Regions from separate parts of the Homo sapiens genome. Here region 1 is linked to region 2. Evidence: promoter capture Hi-C in 16 types of primary human blood cells and fetal thymus (Javierre and others, 2016). All regions are on one chromosome and are shown on one strand. Each heading gives the region's core, a stretch centred on a gene start or on the middle of the fragment in contact. The rest is flanking DNA. Distances are from core to core; before and after follow the strand shown.

Region 1 (5,464 bases), core at 2,896-5,395, 2.6 Mb before region 2:
AAACCAAGCTCTAAAACGTGTAGTCTTCGCTCAGCTCCGCGCCTTTCTCTCCACTTTTAAACCCCAGGCACTGCTGTAGGACTCTGACCCCTATCCTCCTCACGCTTAAGAGATGACCTCTACTTTAGAAAAGCGTGTACAAAATACTTTGCTTTTGGCAAATTCCGCCATTTTAGCCGGATTTGCTCTGTTGCTCCACCCTCGGGCGACAGTGGTGAACCAACAATTTTTTTGCTGTCTTTCCTAAACTTGTCACGTATTGGCCTGTCACCCGACCCTTCTTGTGGCCCTGATAAGTTTTGCATAATTCCACCTAGTGTTATCTATTGATAGCCTTTGTGGGAATGCCTGTGACAAATGGGAACATCCCTTCTCTTTTGAATACTGAAACTCTTCTTTGTCCCAGAAAGTTTAATTCCTGATAGAGTATTTGGGAGAAAAAGCAAAGGCCAACACCCATAAGAGAAAGAATGCAAGACTAGTAGGCTCAAAGCCAGTTATTAATTTTTTTTTAGGTTGCACCCCTTAAGGATCTTCCTGTAAATGATGAGCATGTCACCGTTCCTCCTTGGAAAGCAAACAGTAAACAGCCTGCGTTCACCATTCATGTGGATGAAGCAGAAAAAGAAGCTCAGAAGAAGCCAGCTGAATCTCAAAAAATAGAGCGTGAAGATGCCCTGGCTTTTAATTCAGCCATTAGTTTACCTGGACCCAGAAAACCATTGGTCCCTCTTGATTATCCAATGGATGGTAGTTTTGGTAAGTTTTAAGGAAAATCTGTGTGGAATTACGGTAATTATAATTATTAGATGATATTAATGATTTGCATTTTAAGATGTCTTATGTAGTCATTTTGACTATAGTGAGTTAGGTTTAATGTAACAAGGCTTAGAAAGGATGTGACTTATCTCAGATCTCACAGCTAACACTTGACTTGGTGACATACAAAAAGATCCTTATCCAGTGCTCTTTCAGGTTCACTGCCAGTCACATCAATCTAATTATAATTAGATCTTAAATGCTTATTTTAATCTGATCCCATAAATGTGTTCTTGGTTGGGAGAATAGATTTCAGTTTTATTTAACTCACTTATATATCACTTAGTGCTATTTGAAGATGCAGTCTTAAATATTGTGATTACATAACGTCTCTTCCAGTTTTATAATTTTGTTTCTATAAAACCAGTCTGGATTAGCATCTGATACCAGAAAGTGACACTTTTCCTCCTACAAGTAAATAGTTGTACCATGGCTGTTTACTCTTACCCATGTATTAAAGTAGCTTCTGTAAACAGCTCTTTGCAGTTTGTACTATTTCTTTGCCCTAGGGATATTGAGTCACTGGACAGCTCACTAAATCCAATCTCATTTTAGTTTTAGTTGTATTGATTGTGAGGAAGGAGGGGTGAGCAGGAAAAGTCCTTTGGAAATAATAATTTGTGTGTTTTTATCAAAATTTTGCAGAAAATGTTTAATCTCAAGGTGATCTTTGAAGTGAAAGGAATAATGGATGATACTCTTTGCTTCAAAATAATTTATACTACAAAAAATAAATTATTTATAGTGTTAATCCATTTGCCCATAACAAACCTAATTTCTTAATAACACTTGTTAATAGAGGCCATTTAACTGATGCTAGCTATTGCCTACTTGTGCTTTATATATGTCAGACTCTGGGATCTGCAGTTTCTCTTGGGACAAATCTTAGATATTATCTCAAAACTTGGATTTTAAAAGTGTTCTGTCCTAACAGAACCACCATGCCATTTGCTCCTTTCTGTTGTGGAAGATGGATACTTTAAGATAATACCTGATTCTCATTTTCCTGTTAGGGGCCTACCAATATGTTTTTTTTTTTTTCCCTCATTAACTAAAATCATTCCAAAGTTCTATGTACAGAGATACTGAGACTAGGGTAAAATATTCTACATATTTTGTCATGAGAAGCTCTTTTTAGTTTGAAGAAATAAGTGCTTTGTTAATATGAGATTCCTTCCATGGCAGTCATTTTTAGCTATTAAACTAAATAGGCAAACAATTAATTTAATCATATCTTTTGAATTGTCCCAGAGTCACCACATACTATGGACATGTCAATTATATTAGAAGATGAAAAGCCAGTGAGTGTTAATGAAGTACCAGACTACCATGAGGATATTCACACATACCTTAGGGAAATGGAGGTAAAGGTTCTCTGAATCCAGTTTGTATAATGTATTTGTTAAATGTGGCTAAATGAAATTGAGAGGATAATGTTTAAATTTTTAAACTAATGAATTATTCTAATGCTACAGTTAAGTTTATAGCATGTAGCCTCTCGTAATTAATGGTAAAATAATCTAATTGCAGTTTTTACACTAGAATAATTTTAACACTATAAATAATTTTCTCAATAGGTTAAATGTAAACCTAAAGTGGGTTACATGAAGAAACAGCCAGACATCACTAACAGTATGAGAGCTATCCTCGTGGACTGGTTAGTTGAAGTAGGAGAAGAATATAAACTACAGAATGAGACCCTGCATTTGGCTGTGAACTACATTGATAGGTTCCTGTCTTCCATGTCAGTGCTGAGAGGAAAACTTCAGCTTGTGGGCACTGCTGCTATGCTGTTAGCCTCGTAAGTCTACCTTGGTTTGTTTAAAAGTGATCACGACCTTTTGTCTAGGGAAGAAATTGATTTTTTTAATGGTGACCTTTTAACATACACCAGGCAGAGTCAGTGACTACTTTAGGGATGGCAATGTGCTGGGGCTTAGGGCAGTGGAGGAGGATGAAACTGTTCTAATCTAGAACACTAATTTTCCCCCAACTGGATTCCTTGAACATGATATAGTACACTAGGTTACAAATTTTAAAACATTTTCCTTCCAATATTACTTTCTGGCATATAAGCAGTGTCTCTTTTATTAAGAAGTAAAGGCTGGGTGCGGTGGCTCGCGCCTGTAATCCCAGCACTTTGGGAGGCCGAGGTGGGCGGATCACTTGAGGTCAGGAGTTTGAGACCAGCCTGGCCATCATGGCGAAACCCTGTCTCTACTAAAAATACAAAAATTAGCTGGGCATGGTGATGCATGCCTGTAATCTCAGCTACTAGGGAGGCTGAGGCAAGAGAATCGCTTGAACCCAGGAGGTGGAAGTTGCAGCGAGCTAAGATTGCACCACTGCACTCTGGCCTGGGCGACAGAGCAAGACTCTTGTCTCAAAAAAAAAAAAAAAAAAGAAAGAAAAACTAAATTTAAAAATGAAAACATGAAACATGTTTTCCTAAGACTTGTATTTCCTAAATTTTCAGCTACTTGGTGAACTCTGGCATTGTTCCCATCTCGAGAAGTCTCATGCCTTTCATTTACTTCCTTTGACTGAACTGGGGAAAATATCTCAAAAGTCCTTTATTGATTTGGGCCTTTTAATTAGCAATTAGCTATCCAGTCTCTACTAGAAATGATGATCAAGTGTCTGGAAATGCAGTTGGTGTGGATTTTGGATTCATTCCATATTCTGCTAATGGGATTTCAGAACTGGGATAAGGAAGCTTGCTTCTCTTTTAGGACTGATTACTTAAAACTTTTTTCATTGTAGAAAGTTTGAAGAAATATACCCCCCAGAAGTAGCAGAGTTTGTGTACATTACAGATGATACCTACACCAAGAAACAAGTTCTGAGAATGGAGCATCTAGTTTTGAAAGTCCTTACTTTTGACTTAGCTGCTCCAACAGTAAATCAGTTTCTTACCCAATACTTTCTGCATCAGCAGCCTGCAAACTGCAAAGTTGAAAGTTTAGCAATGGTGAGTTAACTTTCATTTTGTTGAATGGTGATTCTTTGGTAATAATTAGGGGTAAGCCCTAATTCCTTTGTAAAGGAACCTAGTTCCTTTGTACAGCAGTGGTGAAGAGATTTAGTATTCAGAGGGAGATTAATGCTGCAGTATGGAAGAAAGCCTACTGCTGGCAAAAGATAATCTATATCAGGAAAGCACTAGAAGCAGAGGTCTAAGGATGACATCTTGGGGATGGGTAGTCAGAAGAGTTGTTTTTTAAAAGTTAATAAAGGAGGGAAAATACAGGATGAGGATGGAACAAAACACTAAAATGATTGATATGTTTAAAGATGAGGCTGTGAGATATTTTTTCTAGAGTTGCTACAGAGCCGTTATCAAAGGCAGGAAAAAATTAGGTTAGAAGGCAGAGGTTTGACATTTGAATTCTAAACGCTCTTGTGATCATAAAGTATTTTTTATTCCAGTTTTTGGGAGAATTAAGTTTGATAGATGCTGACCCATACCTCAAGTATTTGCCATCAGTTATTGCTGGAGCTGCCTTTCATTTAGCACTCTACACAGTCACGGGACAAAGCTGGGTATGTATTACGGTCTTCACACACCTATCTTGTGACTGAAATGCCTGTGCCAGATTAAATAATAATTGTCCTACAAAACTGAGGGTTGCCTAGATGTTCTTACTTGGAAAAACTTCAAATATATATAGTTGACCTTTGAAAAACACAGGTTTGAACTGTGTGAGTCCACTTACACATGGATTTTTTTCCAATCAAATGTGGACTGAAACTACAGTATTCAGGGGATTCACAACCCATATATATGGAAGGGTGACTGCAGGACTTGAATATGTACAGATTTGGGTATATTTGGGAAGGGTCCTGGAACCAATCCCTCATGTACACTGAGGGATGATTATATACTGTTTAAGGCATGTTACCTGTTGAACAGTGTTTGTTAGGTAGTAAGCTTAGTTGTAACTTGGATTGAAAGGTGAGCTTTTTTAAAAGCATCTGACCTGTTGCTGGCAGGGAAAGTAGTAGAAAATGGATCGAGGGATGGAATAATGGCCTGAGAAAACTAGTAGTTGGAAAAGTTAAAGATTAGTACTGGAATTTAACATAAGCTTAATGCCAACTATTTACTGTGTTTGGTGTGTTACTAAAAGCAAAACTCAGGGGTTCTCTATTCCCTTCTCTGTAGCCTGAATCATTAATACGAAAGACTGGATATACCCTGGAAAGTCTTAAGCCTTGTCTCATGGACCTTCACCAGACCTACCTCAAAGCACCACAGCATGCACAACAGTCAATAAGAGAAAAGTACAAAAATTCAAAGTAAGAATTAACTTGGATATTGAAGCTTACTTTTCTAGATTATGGTTCAGAGATCTTTGACATTTTAACCTTATTCATGAATCTGCCATAGCCTCCTTGAGAAGCTGTTCTCTAAATTGGTTATGTGTTTGAAGAAGGTTGTAGTTCATGCTTTCTGCCCTGGGTCTGGGGGAGAAGAGAGAAGGAAGGGGGCATGCATGTGTGTTTCAGGGACCAGACAGTGTTTCTAAAACCATCAAGTCGGTCAGACAGAAATAGCATTTTTTAGTTCCCAATACATGAGTACAAACATTATTCCATGATCTCCTTTACCCAGTGAGTGTTTACTAAAAATGCTTTTTTTTTC
Region 2 (5,882 bases), core at 1-2,500:
CCTTTTCTTTTAATAACTAAAAGTGAATCAGATCTTAATCACAAAAACCTTCCTAAGTGTACTGCGTTTTTTTGTTTGTTTGTTTGTTTTTTGGAGACGGAGTCTGGCTCTGTCGCCCCTGCTGGAATGCAGTGGCGCGATCTCGGCTCACTGCAACCTCCGGTTCAAGCAATTCTCCTGCCTCAGCCTCCCGAGTAGCTGGGACTACAGGTTAAGTTTACTATTAAACCTACCTCAAAAATAGCCTTAGATATTCTTTGCAAATATATATATTTATACATACATACATACACACACACACATATATATATATATATATATCTATTTCCAGATAAGGAAACTTTCGGAAAACTTTGCTGTCCAACTGGTAATTCCCTGCATACTTTGCATTGATAAAGAAAACCTTGTAGCAGGGTTACAAACCTCAAAACATCCTCAGATTGCAGGTTTTAGAAACCCTCCCTATTACACCTGTGCAAGTACTTCCTGTTCTCCAACACTGTTTAAAAATAGTTTGGTAAATGCCCCGTAAGCCGCCCTTTAGAAGCTAAACATTAACTTTATATACATCACCACTACCACTGAGAAACCACCACCCCAAGAATCTCACGAGTCCAGTCATCTCTCTTCTCCAAGGAGGGAGCATAACCATCCTGGACCCCTTTAAGTAAAAAACTGTGTGCTCAGGCGAGGCAATGTGGCTTGGACAGCCAGGGGCAGGAGCCAAGTAAGGGTATTACTCACAATCCCAGCAGGACTCCAGCTTGTCGCCGCCCTCAAACACGGCAGCAATAACATCCAGGACCCAACAAGTACAGCACCTCCTCCCGCCTCGCGAGCGCCTCCAGCCTGGCCAGAGGCATCTCCGCCAGACGCGGCGAGAAGGGGCGAAAGGGCTGCGTGACCTCTGGCGTCTGAACCGCCCAGCAAAGAGAGTGTGTGTGTGCCCAGAGGGCCGGGGCCATAGGAGGTCGCCGGGCTGCGAGGGGAGAGACGAGCTCTGGGGCTAGAATGAGAGTGTCCCGGTCAGGCCCGCGGGGGTCGCAGGTCTCTGGATCTCCAACCAGAGGGCTAGTTTCGGAGACTTACCTTGAGCTCTACCCTCCTTGCGCGAGGAGCGTGCGGTCCAGGTAGAGAAATACAGGCCTTCCACTCCCACAGAGCTACCTCCCGCTGGCCCAGCCCCGCTTCACGCCGACACCCGCCAGACACACTGACTGCTGCCACAGTACCGAGGCTCACCGGGAACTGGAGCACAGGCGGCTGGTCTCCGCCGCCCAGAGCCCGACCCTGTGAGCGGAGCATGCGCATACGCCCCAATACCCAGGGACCAGTCAGGCCAGTGACACCTGCGATCAACAGGTCCCTGGAGCCCCGCCCCTCTCCCCGCCTCGAGCCCGCCCCTCGGAGCGGGCTCCGCCTTCACGCTCACCGAGGTAACTCCGCCTCCGCTCGCGATTTCCCGGCTTTCTGGACCTGCGGAATTCTATTCCCGCGGGGATTTGATGGCGTGCGCGATACAGTTGGCTTCCTCGGAGGCGCGAGATCGCGCGAGACCAAGAGATAGAACATTTCTGCAAAAGCGGCAGCTTGGCGCTGGAGTTTGGTTGTTGGGGGAAAGGTGGTTGTAGGACGTGCTGTCTGGTGTGGTGAGAAAGAGGCTAGTTCTTCAGGAGGAGGCGATTATTCTGGTGCTCTTGGTAGTTCATTCGGTATTTTCTAAGCTCAAGAACGCGGATCCACCAAGGACTTCACTTAGGTTAGGTGTTACCTGAGAGAACAATCCGTAGTTTGGCATCAGAACCCCATGCGGACACGCAGTTTCCTTTAGATTTCCGTGAGTCGTTAGACGATCTATTTGCAGTTAAATGGCTTCCTGTGGCGTGAATGTGTATTCCCCAAGCAGTTGTTTCTTGCCTTTAATTAGATAGCTTTAATAAGTCTGTTGACCTGGTTAATGATTGTCAGAAAAGTCTGTCCGCCTCTTTGCCGTGCTTTCGAACAGGTTTTAAGTTAAAAGGTACTGCTGGGAATTGGGCTAAACTTTGATTTTGAATAAACCTTTCTTAGGAATAGTAGTAAAGGAAAAACCCATCGTCACTGATACCGAATATCTCTCAAGTAAATAAAGAAGGTTTTGGAACTCATTCCAAAGCTGGTGTAAGTTGAACATACTAATTGTAAAAATGGATTTCAGTAAACCCAGAGGCACTTCTAAAAGTTTATTTGAAGAAAGAGGGGGAAGAAATATTGGTCGTTGATACAGGAGACAAATAGGACCCGTTTGTAATGTCTGAGGCTGAATCATTAAGAATTTATTGAGCATTTACTATGTTCCCTTTACTGAACTAGGCACTGTCAGAAATAGGATGAAATAAAGCCGTGGTTTCTGCCCTCAAAATATTAAAAACTTTGGGAGGGGTGGGGGAAAAAAAGATCCTACTCTGCATTTTTAAAACAATAAGAGCACACCATTAACTCTTCCCTCCGTTTCTCTAATGTCATTTTCTCCTCATTCTGCAGCTACTTTTCTGGTGCACTTTAAATACTGTTTTTCCGCTGCGTGGTCTCTGTTCGCCAGCACTCCATTTTCTTTTGCTGTTTCTGTTTAATGTTAATCCATGTCTCCTTGAGCAGTCTCTTTCCCATCATGGATTTACCTACCACGTGTCCTGTGCACCAAGAACTCTCAGGTGTATATCTATACGTCGGACATTTTTAAGCAACATCCTTTGGATTTCACACAGTATCTTAAATATGTCCCAAATTGACATGGACATCTTTACTATAATCTGTTCCTGATGCCATGTCCCTCTTCACCCATCTGGAACCTACACCATTTCCATTCCCTGTTTCAGAAAATGACACGCAACTGCCCAAGTCAGAAATCTATGAGTACCCCTGTTACTTTTCCTTCATTTCCTCTTTTCTAATATCAAATTTTGACTCTTATTTCCTTAAGTATCTCTCAGGTCCACCCCTCCACTCTCACTGTCTTAGTCCTTCAAGTAATCACCATCTCTTATGACTCATCTTCCTTGTACTATTGCAATATTCACAAGATATCCTCTAGTTATTTCCCACACCAGTCCAACCTCCATTCTATTAATAATTTTTCTAACGTGAAAATACGATCATTATACTTCTCTGCTAAGAATTTTTCATTACCCACCGGCAGGGCCTTTCATGATCACACTGTTAAACTCATCGCCATTCTTCCTCCAGTTCCTCCACATTAATCTTTCTAAAGTCCTTGCTTTCTATGTTCTTGGTTCTCTCAAGATCCTTTGGTTCTCTCTCGAATGCTTATCTCCATGGATCTTTTCATAACTTTCTGAGACAAAATTGTCATCCCTTTTGGGACTTATTTTTATAACAATTATGTTGTACTATATTTATTTCTCTGCAAATGTACCTGACAGAGTAACCCCCACCTCCACCCTTGAGAAATAATTTGAACTGTGGATAATAATGGCTTATACTACCTCCCTTCCTTATTTAGCAATTACAGAAGAATACCCTTCAGTTCACCCTGCTCAAGAATTTGACTAAACCCTGACTATACACTTTTAAAATTATATAATTTCATACTTTCTACCAGTTTTTAGCATATCTATGTACCGATCCTTAAATGGTAGAGTTGTAATAGGACCCAATTTAAGCATCAAGAGGGCAGAGTCTGAAGCAAACATGAAAAAATGGAAAATTGACATTGCAGGACAGCTGTTGCTCCCAGAAAATTTGTAATTGGGAAAGTCACAACAAGGATTTAAAATATTTTAATTCTTACTATTTGTCCTTGAGGGACGTGTGTGGGTTTGATTCCCTAGTTTCTGATTGGCTGGACCCAAATTTGTGAAGACCAATCTCTGCACCTCACACAGGCAAAGAGATCATGAAAGGGAGCAGGCTTGGCATGCCAAAGAATACCCTAGATCATTCAGCTGAGGCTTAGCCAAAGTTCACACCACCAGCACATATACACACCTCTTAGTGTTATTCTGGATTGATTATAACTCAGACTTTGAGAAATGTGCTACCCTGTGGCTAGATGCACCCTGCCACTAATGTCTGGTAGGAATAGCAACATTGTGTCCTGCGGAGCTGTAACCCAGTAGTTCCAGGAGGTAATCAACAGCTTAACCATGACTGAGCTGGGTGGGGTAGAGTGAAATATAGCATAGGGAAGTAGTAGATCAATGACTGACTCAGGGTTAGATACTAGACAGAATCCTTTTTTTCCTAAATGCATCCATAAGGACTGACAAGTGAATTTCCTTACTACCTAAGCTCTCTGTTTTTTCATGTTTCCAAGGCATAGCACAGTGCCTAGCACAGATGCTTAACAAGCAGTGTTTATTGGATGGAGTAAAAATTGGAAGTTTTGTTGATTTTTTTGAATAGAGTCATCTGTGTGGGCTAAAGTTGGAGAGGGCTTCTGTGGGAGATCAAATATGAACTTCAGCTTGGAAGGATTATAAGCAAGTGTATTTGAAGGCATTGAGGAAGATATGTAACTTAAAAGAGCAAAGTTTTAGAAACAGGATTGAACAAGGCCAGTACAGGACTACAATGGGAAGCCTTTGTAAGTTCTGGGGCAGAATGATTCATTTGGAATAAGGTACAGAAGAACTGTAGGGGAAACTATAGCTAGGCAAGAAGAGAAATCTCTAGGCTGTGACTCAGGGATGAGTCAACCAGAAAAATCTAGTCACAATTGACCACTCCCTCCTTGACATCTTCATCTCAATTCTTGTGACATCATTCCTTTATGGCTTTCATCCTGCCTCATGGGCTTCTCTTTCTCAGCCTCCTTTTCTCTTGTACTTTTCAATCTGCTTTAAATGTTGATGTGCCTTAGTGCCTGATCCTGAGATGTCATTTATCCTCATGGTTTTAAATCTATTTCCCACACAGCAGCCAATTAGTCTTTTAAAAATATTGACATGTTACTCCCCAACTTAAATTGTTCAATGACTTTTCATTCACATAGAATAAAATCCAAAATTCTTGCCAAGGCCTATAGACCCCTGAATGATCTGTTCCTGCTTCCGCAACAACATCTCATGCTGTTCAAGGCTTTGCATTCTCTATTCTCTATGTCTGGAAGACTAGTTCTAAACTGGGGGTGGTTTTCTCTCCCATGGACATTTGGCAATGGTTGGAAACATTTTTGGTTGTCACAGTTGCGGGCAGGGATGCTGCTAAACATCCTACAATGGACAAGACAGTCTCCCACAACAAAGAATTATCTAGTCCCCAATGTCAGTAGGATCAAGGTTGAGAATTACTGGCCTAGAACATTCTTCCCATGGGTCTCTAAGTGATTGCTATAGTAATGTGCCTTGTCATTGAAAGTAGCTGGTCTGAACGAGTAAGGCACAGATGAAGTGGGAAGGAGAGAGAGAGTTCCTGAGGATCCTCTCTCCTCTTACAAGGAATTCTGGACTTCAGTATTTACTGGATTCCTAAAGCTCTGCAGCATGACATTTTGTTAAACACTGGAAGTTCAAATTCAATATCCATGATATCTTAGCTAGCTCTTACTTGGCTGAAACTTTTCTGGCCATCCATCCCAGACCTTCTAAGGCTCTGCCATAACAAGGTCAACATTTGCTAGTAAATCACTGCTAGTGGTTTAACTAGTGGCCTCTTTAATTTTTGCTGACTTAGGGTCAGCGTAGGCAATTTCATTACCCTTGTATGTTATTTCACATTGAAACATTCTAATTTTCTTATCATTAAAATTGGGGTGAGAAGAAATACTTATACAAATATCTTTTTATAAGGCCCTAGATAAAAGCAACTGTAAAGTCCCACACTAGGTTATGATGGCCATTAGTGCCATTATTATGATTACTAATGCTGATTACTAAAAAAAA

What was found. The method cuts DNA at HindIII sites, captures the fragments that hold promoters and counts their contacts. A CHiCAGO score of 5 or more calls a contact.
Region 1: a contact is called between a fragment that was not itself captured here and the fragment with the promoter of USP53 in region 2, in 1 of 17 cell types (non-activated CD4 T cells). The highest score is 6.1, in non-activated CD4 T cells.

The regions. Positions count from the first base shown.
Region 1 is chr4:121,817,698-121,823,161 of GRCh38, reverse strand. It overlaps CCNA2 (cyclin A2), which reads left to right. Exons shown (of 8, transcript NM_001237.5): 2 at 516-759; 3 at 2,071-2,183; 4 at 2,397-2,620; 5 at 3,583-3,790; 6 at 4,249-4,362; 7 at 4,985-5,118. Among named protein-coding and RNA genes, the nearest start is that of CCNA2, 3.5 kb to the left of the region's middle. The HindIII fragment of the contact is 1,215 bases long and covers 3,538-4,752 here.
Region 2 is chr4:119,208,081-119,213,962 of GRCh38, reverse strand. USP53 (ubiquitin specific peptidase 53) reads right to left here and starts at 1,250. Exons shown (of 19, transcript NM_001371395.1): 1 at 1,090-1,250. It overlaps LOC101929762 (a long non-coding RNA gene), which reads left to right and starts at 1,319. Exons shown (of 3, transcript NR_125931.1): 1 at 1,319-1,436. RefSeq lists enhancers at 856-905, 611-1,184, 1,516-1,635, 1,758-2,332, 3,488-4,687 and a silencer at 1,256-1,385. The HindIII fragment of the contact is 14,070 bases long and covers 1-5,882 here.